Regions from separate parts of the Homo sapiens genome. Here region 1 is linked to region 2. The links are contacts of gene promoters, found by promoter capture Hi-C in human tissues and cell types (Jung and others, 2019). All regions are on one chromosome and are shown on one strand. The core of a region is centred on a gene start or on the middle of the fragment in contact, and the rest is flanking DNA. Distances in the headings are between cores, read along the strand shown. Region 1 has its middle 5.8 kb from the start of LINC01144. Region 2 holds the start of LURAP1 (leucine rich adaptor protein 1).

Region 1 (4,463 bases), core at 1,856-4,355, 890 kb before region 2:
GCGCTTAAATCATATACTACAAAAGACTAGTGAAATGCTCTTTCAAGTTTATGTAACTTAAGTAAAATCTTTAATAAATAAGCTTGCTTTAAAATTAATGGTAAGGTAATATTAGAAACATCTTAAGAATTGCCCGCCTACATTTTTCTTTGCATGTATTAATGAAGCAATTTCATACTCATCCCTGCCAAATATTATAAGGTGTCAAAATTTGGCATAGGGGTAACAAAACTATAAACGCAGCCCAAGACAGAATGATCTTGCTTGTGTAACCTTTAACAAATAAGATGTTGATATTGGTTTAATGAATGTAGTTATATCTTGAATTATTTAGTAAAATTACCATAACCTCTAATTTTGTGGCTTTAGGCAGTCTAATCCACAGATGGTAGGTAGGTTTGTTTTGGGAAAGGACTGTTACCATCTTTGTTTCAAAGCTAAACTATAAACTAAATTTCTCCCAAAGTCCAGGAATGAACAACGACAGCTTGGAGTTTAGAAGCAAGATGGAGTCAGTTAGGTCATATCTTCCTCACTGTCTCAGTTATAATTTTGCAATGGCAGTTTCATAACTTTATTTATTTTTTAATTTTATTTTTGGAGATGGCGTCTCACTCTGTCACCCAGGCTGGAGTGCAGTGGCACAATCTCGGCTCACTGCAACCTCTGCCTCCCTGGTTCAAGGGATTCTCTTGCCTCAGCCTCCCTAGTAGCTGGCATTACAGGCATCCGCCACCACACCCAGCTAATTTTTGTATTTTTAGGAGATATGGGGTTTCACCATGTTGGCCAGGCTGGTCTTGAACTCCTTACCTCCGGTGATCTGCCCACTTCGGCCTCCCAAAGTGCTGGATTACAGGCATGAGCCACCACGCCCAGCGGTTTCATAACTTTAAATCATGACTTTTGGGCCTGGGTGCAGTAGCTCACGCCTATAATCCCAGCACTTTGGGAGAATGAGGCAGGCAAATCACCTGAGGTCAAGAGTTCAAGACCAGCCTGACCACCATAGAGAAACCCCGTCTCTACCAAAAATACAAAATTAGCCAGCTGTGGTGGCATGTGCCTGTAATCCCAGCTACTGGAGATTACAGTAGATTACAGGTGCCTGGGCAACAAGAGCGAAATTACATCTCAAAAAAAAAAAAAAAATCATGACTTGTGGTTTTCATAATCTAGGTAAACCATTAAAATAAAAAAATTAGGTAAATGTAATGGGATAAATACTGGCAGACAAATTTGTCTTAATTTATAATATAAAGTTAAATTAATAGATATTTCATTATTTGGGTATTTTCCAATAAAATATATAATATAGGAAAACATTCTTGATTTTAAAAAGTGTGAACTTTCTTAAAAAAGGTGAAAAAGTTTTGTCTAATTCAAAGATTATTTTAAGGTTGTGAATAAAACAAGGTAAAAGAAACCAGGAAATAAAAAGAGATGTAAAGACAGAAAAAAAAAAGGTTTTTTATGGTAAGAAAGCTTAAAGAGAAATAATGTTATACGAGAAAGAATCTTGTATGGTGGCTGCGAGCAGTGGCTTATGCCTGTAATCCCAGCACTTTGGGTGGCCAAGGTGGGTGGATCACCTGAAGTAAAGAGTTCTGGACCAGCCTGACCAACATGGTGAAACCCCATCTCTACTAAAAATACAAAAATTAGCCAGGCATGGCAGCATGCGCTTGTAGTCCCAGCTACTCAGGAGGCTGAGACAGGATAATTGCTTGAATCCATGAGGTGGAGATTGCAGTGAGCCGAGATTTCACCACTGTACTCCAGCCTGGGCAACAGAGCAAGGCTCCATCTCAAAAAAAAAAAAAAAAAGCACTTACTAAAAAAAAAAAATATTGAATGGTAAATTTAGTCCTAAAATAAAATGACTAATTGTTTAAGAAGGAGGGATGTTCAGCTCAAGGCAACCTCTGCCTCCCGGGTTCAAGCGATTCTCCTGCCTCAGCCTCCTGAGTAGCTGGGATTACAGGCGCACGCCACCATACCCAGCTAATCTTTGTATTTTTAGTAGAGACGGGATTTCATGATGTTGGTTAGGCTGGTCTCGAACTCCTGACCTCAAGTGATCCACCTGCCTTGGGCTCCCAAAGTGCTGGGATTATAGGCATGAGCCACCACGACCAGCCCAAAAATTTTTTTAATTGAGGTTACTATATCCATGTGTCTTCTTGTGTGTACTTCTAAAGTCCTTGTGACCTTGAGTTACAGGGCTTTGACTCCTGGGTCAAAAAGGACACCAAGTCCTGCTAAATCTTAAACACTGACAGCAATTAAAGCCTCATCAGGCTCCATAGAAGATGCCGGTCAAAATAAACTGCATTTCTGAGACACAGGGCCAAAAATTAAAGCCGTTCAACTCCTTAAGGCCCAGGGACTATCATGGAAGAGGTGGGCACGTGAGATTCTAAGGGCTGATTTTGAAAGATAAAGTTCAATTTCTCTATATATTAATCACTAACGTCAAAGGCACTTGAATGTGCTGATGAAAGACTAGCACATGGGCCCCTGTGTCAGATTAAAAGAGACTCTCCTGCCTCTTGAAGCATTAACTGACTCCTTAAGAAAGGCTATAGGCTGGGTGCGGTAGCTCACGCCTGTAATCCCAGCACTTTGGGAGGCCGAGGCAGGCGGATCATGAGATCAGGAGATCAAGACCATCCTGGCTAACATGGTGAAAGCCCGTCTCTATTAAAAATACAAAAAATTAGCCGGGCGTAGTGGCGGGCGCCTGCAGTCCCCGCCACTCGGGAGGCTGAGGCAGAAGAATGGCATGAACCCAGGAGGTGGAGCTTGCAATGAGCCGAGATCGCGCCACTGCACTCCAGCCTGGGAGACAGAGCCAGACTCCGTCTCAAAAAAAAAAAAAAAAAGAAAGCCTATAAAGTTTATAAAAGGCTTATGGAAGCTCTATCTTACGGTCAACATTAAAATTTTCTAGATCACTTATAAAATTTTGAAAAACAAATTTAATTAGCTTATTGCTGTTTTTCTTAAGTCTTCTTGCTTGGAAAATTAAGTTGCCTCTCAAAGAATGAAGGTTTTAAAAAAAAAAAACATTGAGTTATCACTTTGGTTAAATGAATGACTTATTTGACAATGACCTGTGATCCTATTTTGTGATATCAAGTGTTTTAAACCTTTGATACTCAACAAGCTTTCTAAAATCAAATTGTAAATTAGGTCTTTTTCTGATGTAATTAATCCTTTGAGAGATTAGGTTCCCTAAAGTCCAAAAATGACATAATTTGGTTTATTTGGTATAAAAATGATACAGGTAGCATTGTCAAATATGAAATGGTGTCTCATTTTCTTTAGGCTGTATTTCTATAATTATGTTATTAATATGTGTTCCAATATTATGGGAAACTCCTATAATTCTGATATAACTTAGTGTACATTATCAGTAATAATTATAATTGTTATGTTAAATTATTGTATGCCACAGAGGTAAATTTCCTTGTCAATTTTGTCTTTGACTATGGCTGCCCTAAAACCTTTTGTCATCTACGAACAATTGTTGTCTTGTTTTGGTCCTCTTTGGAAGATGGTTCTATAGTCAGCTATGGAACTCTAACAGTTGTTCTTGAATGCAGGTTTCTGATAACTTTGGAGAGTGTGACATCAGAATAGAAGAAAAACTTTAGGACTCATGGAGAGCTAAAATGTTCATGAGTATCAGGCAGAACAGAAATTAACTGCATGGACTGAACTAATCTTTATAACTTTTTGCTTAAAATGTTTGCTGAACATTTGTTTTGTGTTTGAGAGTCTTAAAACTTCTTTTGAGCTACTGACAGCTTTTAACAATTTAATATACTCCTATGAAAAAATTTGGAGCATATTTGTTTCTCTCTACCTGATTTCTTCAGAAATTAGAAGCTATTTGTGAATATTCTTAACTTATGGCAAGACAGTTATTTGCATAAGTGCAATAAGAATCTGTTTTTGGCCGGGTGCAGAGGCTCACGCCTATAATCCCAGCACTTTGGGAGGCCAAGGCGGGCGAATCACCTGAGGTCAGGAGCTCAAGACCGGCCGGACCAACATGGAGAAACCCCATCTCAAAATACAAAATTTAGCTGGGCATGGTGGCGTGCACCTGTAATCCCAGCTACTTGGAAGGCTGAGGCAGGAGAATCGCTTGAACCCAGGAGGCAGAGGTTGAAATCAAATGAGATCATGCCATTGCACTCCAGCCTGGGAGACAGAGTGAGACTCCATCTAAAAAAACAAAAAAAGAATCCGTTTTCATTTGTAACAGGACACAATTGGAGAAACTGGTTATTTAACCAAGGCTTTGACTGGAATAGTGTGCTTTCCTTTGAGAAATCAAACCTGACTTACGGAGCCAATAAAGCCCTTGGGAAAACTGGCATCATATTTTGTGTATACAGTCCCTATGCAGGGTTTCTGATGTGTGGTAAGTAAATAACGTCACATTCTGACAG
Region 2 (4,880 bases), core at 1,076-3,575:
TAATTCCAGTTACTCAGGAGGCTGAGGCAGGAGAATGGCTTGAACCTGGGAGGCAGAAGTTGCAATGAGCCAAGATGGTGCCACTGCACTCCAGCCTGGGCAACAGAGCCGGACTCTGTCTCAAAAAAAAAAGACAAATGTTTTGTCTATCTCTAACTTAAAACCCTTCCATGGATCAAAAAGTACCAAGGAAAATGATGTTACTTAAAATTATAAAGGTAGGCCAGGCATGGTGGCTCATGCCTGTAATCCCAGCACTTTGGGAGGCTAAGGTGGGAGGATTGCTTGAGGCCAGGAGTTCGAGACCAGCCTGGGCAACATAGCGAGACTCTATCTAAATTTTAAAAAAAGTTAATTACAAAGGTAACCTTAGATGAACTAAAAAGAGTGATAGAAATATGTAGTGCCAGGCCGGGCGCAGTGGCTCACACCTGTAATCCCAGCACTTTGGGAGGCTGAGGCAGGCAGATCACGAGGTCAAGAGTTCGAGACCAGCCTGACCAACATGGTGAAACCCCCGTCTCTACTAAAAATACAAAAATTAGTCGGGCATGGTGGCACGTGCCTGTAATCCCAGCTACTCAGGAGGCTGAGGCAGGAGAATCGCTTGAACCCAGGAGGGCAGGTTGCAGTGAGTCAAGATCGTGCCACTGCACTCCAGCCTGGGCGACAGAGTGAGACTCCATCTCAAAAAAAAAAAAAAAAAGAAAAAAGAAAGAAAAGAAAAGAAATATATATTGCCAATGGGGGAAAGGAACTACAGAGTGTGAGTTAAACCCATATATCCATATTTATCTGAATAGGACAATAAACAGCAGATGAATGTTTAAAATTGAGAAGTAGTGTGGCTGGGCATGGTGGCATACTCCTGTAGTCACAGCTGCTTGGGAGGCAGGAGGATTGCTTGAGCCCAGGAGTTTGAGTCCAGCCTGGGCAATGTAGGAAGACCCTGTCTCTAAAAAAGAAAAAATAGTGGTAGGATTTACAATAAGAGGATAGTTACTCCTACCCTACCCTTTCACACCTCTAGGCCCACTCCCAATTGGCAACCACTTTTAGTTAACTCTAAACAATAACGTTATGGGTATGAACACCAAAAGAAAAAAAAAAACTAAAAGTTATTTTTTGCCAATTGGGAGTGGGCCTAGAGGTGTGAAAGGGTAGGGTAGGGGTAACTATCTTCTCATTGTAAATCCTTCTGCAACCATGGGCTGGAATTACTTGAATTAAAAGCCTAAACAAACCAGAGTTTTCATGGCTGTTCATTACCTGTTAAATAAAACCCAAACATCTCAGAACCATTTTCTGTAACCTTGTTACTCAAAGTGTGGTCCCTTATTACTTGAAGTGTGGACCAGCAGCATGGCCATCACCTGGGAGCTTATTAGAAATGCAGGATCTTGGCTGGGCGCAGTGGCTCACACCTGTAATCCCAGCACTTTGGGAGGCCAAGGCAGGCGGATCACTTGAAGTCAGGAGTTCAAGACCAGCCTGGCCAACATGGTGAAACCCTGTCTCTACTAAAAATACAAAAATATTAGCTGGGCATGGTGGCGCATGCCTGTAATCCCAGCTACTCAGGAGGCAGAGGCAGGAGAATTGCTTGAACCCAGGGAGGCAGAGGTTTGTAGTGAGCCAAGATCGCGCCACCACGCTACATCCTGGGCGACAGAGCGAGACTCTGTCTCAAAAAAAAAAAAAAAAAAAAAAAAAAAATGCAGGATCTCAAGCCCCACCCCAGATTTACAAAATCAGAACCTACATTTTAACAAGATCCGCAGATAATTCATACGCACAGTCAAGCTTAAGGAGCATCTTGCTTGTAAGCCCAACGTGGACCTCTTCAGCTTCAGTACTGGTTGCCCTTTTCTACTCCGTTAGCCTGAATTCTAGCCCCTGGGGGGGGGGGGTGGTGTGTGTGTGTGTGTGTGTGTGTGTGTGTGTGTGTGTCTAGCTAAAATCCAGTCATCGTTTTATACCCAATTCCTCTGCTCCAGGAAGACTTCCAAGCCCTCTGCAGCTCTCTGTTACCGCTGTTCCTTAAACTCCCACATCTCTGACTGAAGCTGCTTAGACTTCATTCTGCAAACATGTATTGGGCGCCTGCTGTGTGCCTGGCTGGATTCAGTGCCAGGGTGGGGCGAAGGCGCTGAGGTCTCCGAGTGCTCTTTCAGGTCCAACTCCAGAATCGCCCAGCCCCACGCAATCCAGGGCCAGAGGTTGTGTGCGCAGCACTCGAATACATCCACAGACGGTGCTGCGCGGCTTTTCTGAGTGTTACGGCGCCCTCCTCCCGCCCCCGCGCCGCGCGGGCGGGGACCCACCGGTTTTGCTCCGCTTTAGCAGCGGCGAAGGGAGGACCCCCGGGAGCCGGTCCCCGGCGTCCGGTCGCCCAGCCCTTTTCAGGCTTGGGCCCGCATGGAGGGGACCGTGGAGTCCCAGACGCCTGACCTGCGGGATGTGGAGGGTAAGGTGGGCAGGAAGACCCCTGAAGGGCTGCTCCGCGGGCTGCGAGGCGAGTGTGAGCTGGGAACCTCTGGCGCCCTGCTGCTCCCAGGGGCGTCTAGCACCGGCCACGACTTGGGGGACAAGATCATGGCGCTGAAGATGGAGCTGGTGAGTGCTGAATCCATGGGCCAAGGGGACGAGTCCCTAGTGTAGGGCCGGGAGGGACGAACTCATGCTCCCAGAGTTAAGCTGGAGAGGAGGTAGTTAAAACTCTCCACCTAACTGCTCAGAATCCCTCCCAGATCAATCCGTAAACGCTGGGGTGGAGATGGAGTGACGTCCATTACTTGTCCCCCAAGAGTGAGTGGGGTGTTGATGGTCCTGAGGACTTGGGTTGGGAGCAGTGGGTTTTGGAAGTTATTCCTGCCAAATAATTGGGAGGAGAGAGATGAGGACTGGGAAGTACTGAGAACCCAACGCAGCACAAATTCCCCCCGCCTGTATGGGCCACCTATTCCCCGCCAGTCCCCGTTGTAAGGCAACCGGTTTTTTCTCCTTCTGCTAACCGGGAAAGGGTTTAAGTTCCTGTGAGGCCGCAGTGTTCCGCACAGAAAAGAAGTGGGTAAAGGGGCCTATCTGCTGAAAACTACCTGGACCAGGGGCACTGAAAACCTTCTCCGTTTCCTCTACATCCCCCAGCCCTACTTAAAATAATGGAAAGTTCCTAGACCCATAGCAGGGACAGAGAGTAGCAGCACCACTGGTGCTGATTCCCTCGCCTCAGACTCAGTCTCCTCCCAGCCAGTCTTCCAGGTAAACTGGATATTTGGATCTCATCTGTACATTCTTGGGGAGAAGAGGAAACAGCAACCCTCCCCTTTCTCTATTGCTGCTGGTCTAGATTCAGAGCCAAAAGGGCAGCCGAGGCCCTGGCAGGTTCCCCAGGGCCCTGATTCCGGTGAAGTGGGTGATTTACACCTGCCACTACTTTGCAGCCAGTTCTGGGGAACTGAGGAATTGCCATCGGCTTCCTGGCTCACAACCAGGAGCCCACAGTGAGTACGTCAGCTAAAGTCTTCCTGTGTGCCCAGCCTGTGCCAAGCTGGTCTGTGAAGGAGAAGGGGAAGGAAATCATGGGGGCTCTGAGACCAGCCAGGGCTCCGACGCCTGAGCTGAGAGGCTGGGAAGAGAGTCTGGTGGGTGGAGCAGTCAGGAAAGGCCCCCTGGGAGAAGGACTTGAATGCCAAGTGTGCACTTGGCCTTGAAGGTTGGAGGTGAGTGCCCAATTCTCCAGAGCAAGGCTGTGACTGTACCCACCTAAGCGGGGGCTTGCCTTTGCCTCACTGTACAAACTTTAGCTCAAGGCCTAGTAAGAGCCTATCTAGACTGTCTACTTGCTTTGAAAACTTTCACCCAGTGCATGTGCCAGGCAGCTTGCTGAGCACTTTACATGATGCTCTCTTCATCTCCACAGTAACCCTGTTAAGTGATATTTTATAGATGGAGAAACTGAGGCACAGGGTGGGCATGGTGGCTCACGCCTGTAATCCCAGCACTTTGGGAGGCCGAGGCAGGCAGATCGCTTGAGCCCAGGAGTTTGAGACCAGCCTGGGCAACAAAGCAAGACCCTGTCTCTACAAAAAATACAAAAATTAGATGGGTGTTGTGGTGTGTGCCTGTAGTCCTAGCTACTCTGGAGGCAGAGGCAGGAGGATCACTTGAGCCCAGGAAGAGGAGGTTGCAGTGAGCTGAAATCGCACCACTGCACTCCAGCCTGGGTGACAGAGCTCAGAGCTAGACCCTGTCTCAAAAAAAGAAGGGGAAGAAGGGGAGGAAGGGAGGAAGGGAGGGAGGGAGGAGAAAAGAAAAGAAAACAGAGGCACAGGGAGTTTAATAACTGCCCAACATCACGCAAAAAGCAGGGCCATGATTTGAACCCAGATCATCTGACTGCACTTTGCATCTTTACTTTGAGACCTGCTTTGTGCCAGATAGTCTGAACATTTTATGTCATTGAAATGAGAAAACTGGTCATCATTTCTCCCATCTTACAGATAAAACGTGCTTGCAGATTCTGAACTCACATAGGGAGTCAGTGGAAGAGCCACGCCCAGTCTCTGGCTCTCTTCTCTGCCTTGGTGGAAACTATCTGTAAACTTTAAGGGGCTGCATTTAACTTTTGATTTTGTCTCTCTGTATTCTTGACCCAGCTTGCCTGGGGCCTGAGGCTGCCCGAGAAAGGGCACAAGGGAGGGAGCCTTCTGGGGCCAGAATGAGGAGAGATCCCCATCCTATTTTTTCTCCTTCCTCAGGCCAGGATGTTATTAATATTAATCTCTTCTTGTGCTCTGCCCTGCCTACTGGGTTGCACCCAGGAAGGACAAGGGGTGGGGCAAGGGATTTGCCTTCGGGCTACTGAAGGCAGGACTGGT

What was found. Contacts are between HindIII fragments. The study calls those that stand out against the background at their distance.
Region 1: a fragment that was not itself captured here is called in contact with the fragment with the promoter of LURAP1 in region 2 in 1 of the 25 tissues and cell types used here (thymus).

The regions. Positions count from the first base shown.
Region 1 is chr1:45,307,444-45,311,906 of GRCh38, forward strand. No RefSeq gene overlaps it. Among named protein-coding and RNA genes, the nearest start is that of LINC01144, 5.8 kb to the left of the region's middle. The HindIII fragment of the contact is 4,644 bases long and covers 784-4,463 here.
Region 2 is chr1:46,201,009-46,205,888 of GRCh38, forward strand. LURAP1 (leucine rich adaptor protein 1) reads left to right here and starts at 2,326. Exons shown (of 2, transcript NM_001013615.3): 1 at 2,326-2,616. The coding sequence starts at 2,419. It also overlaps a transcript of POMGNT1 not described here. RefSeq lists a silencer at 2,247-2,366. The HindIII fragment of the contact is 7,969 bases long and covers 1-4,880 here.